Regions from separate parts of the Homo sapiens genome. Here region 2 is linked to region 1. Evidence: promoter capture Hi-C in 16 types of primary human blood cells and fetal thymus (Javierre and others, 2016). All regions are on one chromosome and are shown on one strand. Each heading gives the region's core, a stretch centred on a gene start or on the middle of the fragment in contact. The rest is flanking DNA. Distances are from core to core; before and after follow the strand shown.

Region 1 (3,118 bases), core at 203-2,702:
TTTCTTCACCACTATATCCCAAGCACCTAACACAATGTCCGGCACATTGTGAGTACTGAATAAATATTTGTTCAATGAACAAGCAGATTTGCCTGGTACATCCCCTCTGTGGAATGAAACCTAGAGCAGAGCTGGAAGCCTGGTCAAGGATGAGGTACTGACCATGTCCCTTACTTTAGACAGGATCAAGGAAAAGGCAGGCCTCACAAGCCTCTGTTCTCTTTGGAAACTGATCCACCAGCAAAGTACTGCAAATAGCCAGGCACATGCAGACCCCCATTTATTTCTTTGGGGTGAAGCTGAGTGATGATCAGATGTCAAGCTTAGGCCATCTTGTCTGAATTCTTCATTTTACAGATAAGAAAACTGAACCATGAAGAGACAAGTGATCTTTTCAAAGCACATTCACACTGATGATTTCTGAAACAGTGCTTTGTAGCAATGCCGTGAGGAAGGTTAGGGGTGTCCCCACTTTATAGAAGACACAAGGGCAGAGGCAGAGTAGGTGTTGGCAGTTGTGAGGAGAGTCACAGTACTCATCATTTGTCAGACATTTTTCACTGTGCCAGGCACTCTGACATTTTTCATGTACAAGTTGACTTCGTGCTTCTCCTCTGAGGTAAGCATTCAATACTCCCATTTAGCAGAGTAGGAACCAAGACTTAGAAAGGTGAGTGATCTGCCCATGTCACAGGTGGAGAGCTGGGATTTGAACTTGGCCCATGTTTGACCATCACGTAAAACAGGAATGGGGCATCAGAAAGGGAAGGTCAAAATGTAACCAACAGACCTATATTCCCTTCATGCTGGAGGTTCCTGGGGCAAAGCCACTCTCTGAGGTTTGGTGGGGAGGGACTTGGGGAGCAGAGAGCAGAGGGACAATGAGCTCCCAGAAGCCGAGGGGCATAGGGTGCCAAAGAGAAGCTGCTGCCTCTGTGAGCACCCATGTCAGTTAGTTTTGAGGAACAGGACTCAGGGTTCCAGTTTAAATCCTTCCATTCACAATCTTTAAGAAGAAGAAAAAAAAGAAGTCTGCCGCTGACCACAAGAGCTCTATGCCCTGCCCCCATCCCACATACACACATCCCACACTTCAATTGCTCCAAACATTCTGGGAACATCTCACTGCCACCCACCTCACCCAACTCAGCTTCACCTGCCCCCAATTCCCTTAAGGCTGAGCTCCCAGGGCCAAGACTCAAGAGGCTCAGAGTGAGCAGAGAAAATCCTCGCAGTTAACTTGGCTTCCAGGAAGTGGCCACTGGTGGGCGTTGTGGCCATTCATGAGCACCAAACCACACAAAAAGAAGAACTTTGTCCCTTTCTTGTCATTTTGAAAGACTGTGAAACTGGAGCCAATTCTCCATCATCACACAGGAAGCTGAGTACTTCCTACTTGGTCAGGATCTTGAAACTTGAATTCATAAAAACCCAGAAAGCCCCAGAAACAAAGACTTCACGGACAAAGTCCCTTGGAACCAGAGTAAGTGTCACTTGTCTTTTCTGTCTTATCTGTTACTGTGGAGGGCAGTGTTGTTCAAAGACATGCATGCAGCTAGGGGCTCCTCAAAGGTAGGGGGAATTCTTTGAGTAGGCTGGGCAAATGTCTAAGTAGCCCATGGATGCATCTCCAAGGCAATTAATACTGTAGCAATACTGAGAATGGTGGATTTATAAAGCTGGGTGCTCAGATGAAATATAGGCTTTTTTGCTAAAAAGGAAGCTTACTTGAAGGATTGGCTTTTGGTTACTGATTAAGAAAGTCAGTCAGTACTAAGGGACAAAAGGTGTTTTCTGTGGAAACCTATTCAATAAGAAATTACTTGGCGGGGCGCAGTGGCTCACGGCTGTAATCCCAGCACTTTGGGAGACCGAGGCAGGTGGATCATGAGGTCAAGAGATGGAGACAATCCTGGCCATATGGTGAAACCCTGTCTCTACTAAAAATAAAAATTAGCCGGGCATGGTGGCGCATGCCTGTAGTCCCAGCTACTCAAGAGGCTGAGGCAGGAGAATCACTCGAATCCGGGAGGTGGAGGTTGCAGTGAGCTGAGATTGCACCACTACACTCCAGCCTGGCGACAGAGCAAGAGTCTGTCTGAAAAAAAAAAAAAAATTGCTTGCCAAATTCCCCCATGTAAAGGAAAACCAAACATGGTGTATGAAGAAATTATAGCAAGAGGGAAATATTAGCTAGAAAAATCTTGGCAGATGCAAGGATGATTTGATACTGAACCTATCTCTTAAGAAGACTAGAACCAAGGATCCTCAAAATTGGCACTGCTATCTTTGGAAGAGGTAGGCTTTCACTCACCCAAAGGCAAGGAGCTGGCCAGGTGATCTTGGGGGGCATCTGTTCTGCTCTACTAACAAAGACACAGGTCAGGATTTTGTTCTGAAGATAGAGGGGCATGGTGGCTCCGTATAGGTATCTACTTCATAGGTGGTCTTGGTGGGTCCCAGATTTCAAAGAAGAGATGGAAACTCCCAAAAGTTTGCACAACCTGGCACCAGGCTATGTGCCACTCACTGATCCTTTAGTTCCCGCACCGAGCAGTGGGACAGTGCTGGACTGTTCAGAATGTGGGGCCTGGGCAGTGATGTGCTGGTAAATGTTCAACAACTGACTCTTCTGAAGAAAAGATCCCTGCTTTATAACATTTGTTGATTTTCATGGTATAAATGCCCCCACTGTGGTCAGTTTCAAGCTACCAACATGCTGAATGTGGAGTGGGGAAGAGATGCACGCAATTGGCATTTATAAACCAGTATAAGCCAGCCAGCGCACCATAGGCCTGGGTGTCTTTCACCATCACAGACTGCTCTATCTCTGCTCAGAGACTTCACCAACTCCCAGGCTGGAGGACACTAGCAGTGGAGGGTCCAGGATCCAGGGCTATAGCTGACCACTGTGCAGTGGCCTTGAGGCAGACTTCTGCAGTAGACTACAGCAGGGCTGGCAGATTAGATGACAACATGGTCCTTTGGTTTCTCTTCTCGGGCCCCACCCCAGATCACCTCCCTTTAGGAACAGCATGCCTTGGAGTGGTTGCCTGGGGCTTAACAAGTTGGGGAAATAACAAATGGGTTGGAGGTAGGGGGTGTATGGAGGTGACTC
Region 2 (3,125 bases), core at 501-3,000, 280 kb after region 1:
AGGGAGCTGTTTGTGAGGTCCAGCACCTACAGCCTGATCCCCATCACTGTGGCCGAGGCAGGCCTCACCATCAGCTGGGTCTTCTCCTCTGACCCCAAGAGCATCTCCTTCAGTGTGGTCTTCCAGGAGGCCGAGGACACACCGCTGGATCAGTGTAAGGTAAGGCTGGGCTCCCTGCCTGTGGGCTCCTTACACACACATCTGGGTACTTGGGCAGGCCTTTCTCAAAGCAGGGCAGTGGCCATCCTATCCTCTGCTGGGCAGGCCTCACTTGGAATGTTCTGGGCAGTATCATGCAGAGAAGGCAGAGCACCTGGGCCTTGTCCAGTTTGGGGAGAGAAAGACCCAGAAGTTCTGGAAAGCTGTTCTCAAATGTCTGAAGGTCACACCTGTGTGAAACAGGTACAGTCTGCCCTTGGGATAGATGGGTAGGTGAAAGAGGAATACAGACGTATGACTCAATTTAAGGATCATTTTCTAATAGAGCTGTGCAAAGCAGGAATGGATCACCTTGGGAGGTGGTGACCTCTCTTCCTCTAGTTTTTAGCTTAGGGTGCATCTCAACCCGGAAAGGTGTCAGTAGAGACAACCCCAATGTCACTTGGGTGGTCGAGCTTGAAATCTTGGTGGCAGGTACCAGTTTATAAATTCCTAAGACATTCTAGGCATGGAATGTTGACAGTGCCCGGACTGTTGTTCTCAACCTTGGCTGCAAATTAGAGTCTCTAGGGGTGGGATCCAGACATCTCCAAGTGATTCCAATGAGCAGCCAAGGTTGAGAACCACTGGTGTAGATCAGGGGGTTGAAGCCAAAGTGGAAAGGATGAGGTGGAATCCAGACCACAGGGACAGAGGTTGGGCAGGGCTCCATGGGTGGCTGATTCAGTATGGGGCAAGGAGAAGGGAGACCCATGCCTGAGGTCTGAATTTGATGCCTGCATCTCTGCAGAGAAAGGGTGTAGAGGGATATGGGAGGGAGAGATGGTTTGCATGGAAACACAAGTTCCATTTGAATCATTCTGAGTGAAAGAAATGGTAAAAGCCGTTGGGCCTGCTGGACTGGAGCTGAAAATGGATCCTAGTCTGGGAATATGACTGCAGAAATCTCCATTTTGCAAGAATTGCAAGGATCAAGATAGGGAAAAGCTAGCTGAAGTCATGTGAAACAAGAGTTCTGTGAAGTCTTTGCAGAAACATCTAATAGTCCCTTGTGTGTTTGGTCCACTGGGTGCCCTCGAGGGGCTTGAGGCTGAGGGATGAGGAGGGCCCAGAGCAGGAGAGCCCAGCTAGGAGACACATTGGGCCACACAGCAGTTCCTGCTGTGGCGCTGGCATCCCATAGAGGAACACGTACCCGTTTGGGTTTGCTCTCCTGCCATCCTGCCCTGTTGGAATCTGCTCAATGCAGGGATCGCTTTTGTCATTTCTCTGCTTTTCAAACTCACTCTCAAAATGTAACTCTACTCCCTTGGGTTGGCCTTGTTTATTGGAATCTCATATTCTGTCTTATTTAAAACCGCTCTGCCCATCTTATTCTTTTGGGGCTTGTAGCCAGCTCCTCCTACCTACCTCTGGAGCCCTTCCTTCTTGAGCAGTTCTGAGCCCCCACCCAGGAGGTCCTGGTGCGGCCAACATGCCTGTCAGCTCCACACTAACAAACGGCAGCACTGCCAAGAGCTGCCCTTGCCACTCACCATCACGTTCCCCAGACCCACCAGGCCCCCAGCCCTGAATCCACCCAGATCAGACACCGTGAGTGTTTGTGGCAGGGAGGGAAGGGACGAAATCAGGGATCCAGGCCTTTGCTGTTTTGCCTGCCCATATGTGGCTGGGCTGTGGGCCTCTCCCCTTGCTCAGTCCCTACCCACCGAGTCCTCAGCAGCCTGGGGTTCCTGTGTGGCTCTACCAGGAATCAGGAACTTGGGGACCTACTGAGCCTTCCTCCTCTAGCTTCCAGGGGGCCCCACTGCCTTTCCCCACAGTGACACCAGGGGGCAGAAGGGGCCCGTGTACAGGATGCTTAGGTGCTCCTCTGCCTTCACAGGCCACTGTCACCAACCACAGATGGGGGTGGCTGTTATCTCTGCCTGAGGTCCCCCAAAGAGACCATGGCCAGGGTAGCCTGTTTCCAGACATGTGCCCTCAATATCTATCCCGGGGACTCCCCGAGTGCACTCCTGACCAGCCTGGGCCTTAGAGGAAATGACAGATGCAGTGCAAATTGCAGCACTCAGACTTCATGATTACGGAGGTATAGACACAAGGAATTATGCTGTGTATTTGCAACCATTTATTGAGTGTGTCCTGTATACTGGACTCTGTAGGGCCCACGGGGGATAGAAAGATGAAGGGATAACATGGGATCTCCCGTTGAGGAGCTCACTGTGTAATCAGAGAGAGACTCTAATAAATAGACATTTGTGATTCCAGGTGGTTTCATGACAGGGGTGGGTGGGCACTGTGGGTACCCCTGGGAAGGATGCCTAGCCCAGCCTGGGGAACAGAGATGAGGAAAGGAGACCCCTGGGCGATGATGAAGACCACAGTGGAGGAAACCAGAAGCAGCATTGTGAGGTGAGGCGAGGGACCTGTGGGCTTGAGGAGAAGCATCCAGGTGGATGGAATAGCACAGCAGAAGGCCAGCCCCGTTTCTAGGGGCACCTGTCAGACACTCTCCACCCTGTGCCACCCTCTCTCCAGACCCACTTCCTCCATTATAGTCATAGACTCGACACTGAGATTGGAGAGTGTGAATCTAGGGGAGGCACTTGATGAAAGAAATTATGAACCAGGTTACCAGTGTACACACCGCTGGCCTGAGGCCCAGGGACAAAGTGGAGAATTGGATCCAGACTCTGTCCTCTCTCTGGGCAGAGGATCCGTCTTTGGCCAGAGGTCGATGGCCTGTTGGGGTGGGCTTCAGAGGGAGTCAGAGGAGGAATCAGCTGACAGCAAGGACCCTTGACTTTGTTTTTTAAAACAGCTTTATTGAGATATAACTCACGCACTTGGAATGTACAGTTTAATGGTTTTTAGTATATTCACAGAGTTGTACCACCATTACCACTGTCTAATTTTAGATTCTTTCCATCACTCCAAAAAAGAAATTCTGTGCCCATTAGCAG

Evidence for each region. The method cuts DNA at HindIII sites, captures the fragments that hold promoters and counts their contacts. A CHiCAGO score of 5 or more calls a contact.
Region 2: a contact is called between a fragment that was not itself captured here and the fragment with the promoter of CCR1 in region 1, in 1 of 17 cell types (neutrophils). The highest score is 7.0, in neutrophils.

What each region holds. Positions count from the first base shown.
Region 1 is chr3:46,206,647-46,209,764 of GRCh38, reverse strand. CCR1 (C-C motif chemokine receptor 1) reads left to right here and starts at 1,452. Exons shown (of 2, transcript NM_001295.3): 1 at 1,452-1,483. The HindIII fragment of the contact is 1,401 bases long and covers 325-1,725 here.
Region 2 is chr3:45,928,105-45,931,229 of GRCh38, reverse strand. It overlaps FYCO1 (FYVE and coiled-coil domain autophagy adaptor 1), which reads left to right. Exons shown (of 18, transcript NM_024513.4): 16 at 1-159. Among named protein-coding and RNA genes, the nearest start is that of CXCR6, 14 kb to the left of the region's middle. The HindIII fragment of the contact is 4,833 bases long and covers 1-3,125 here.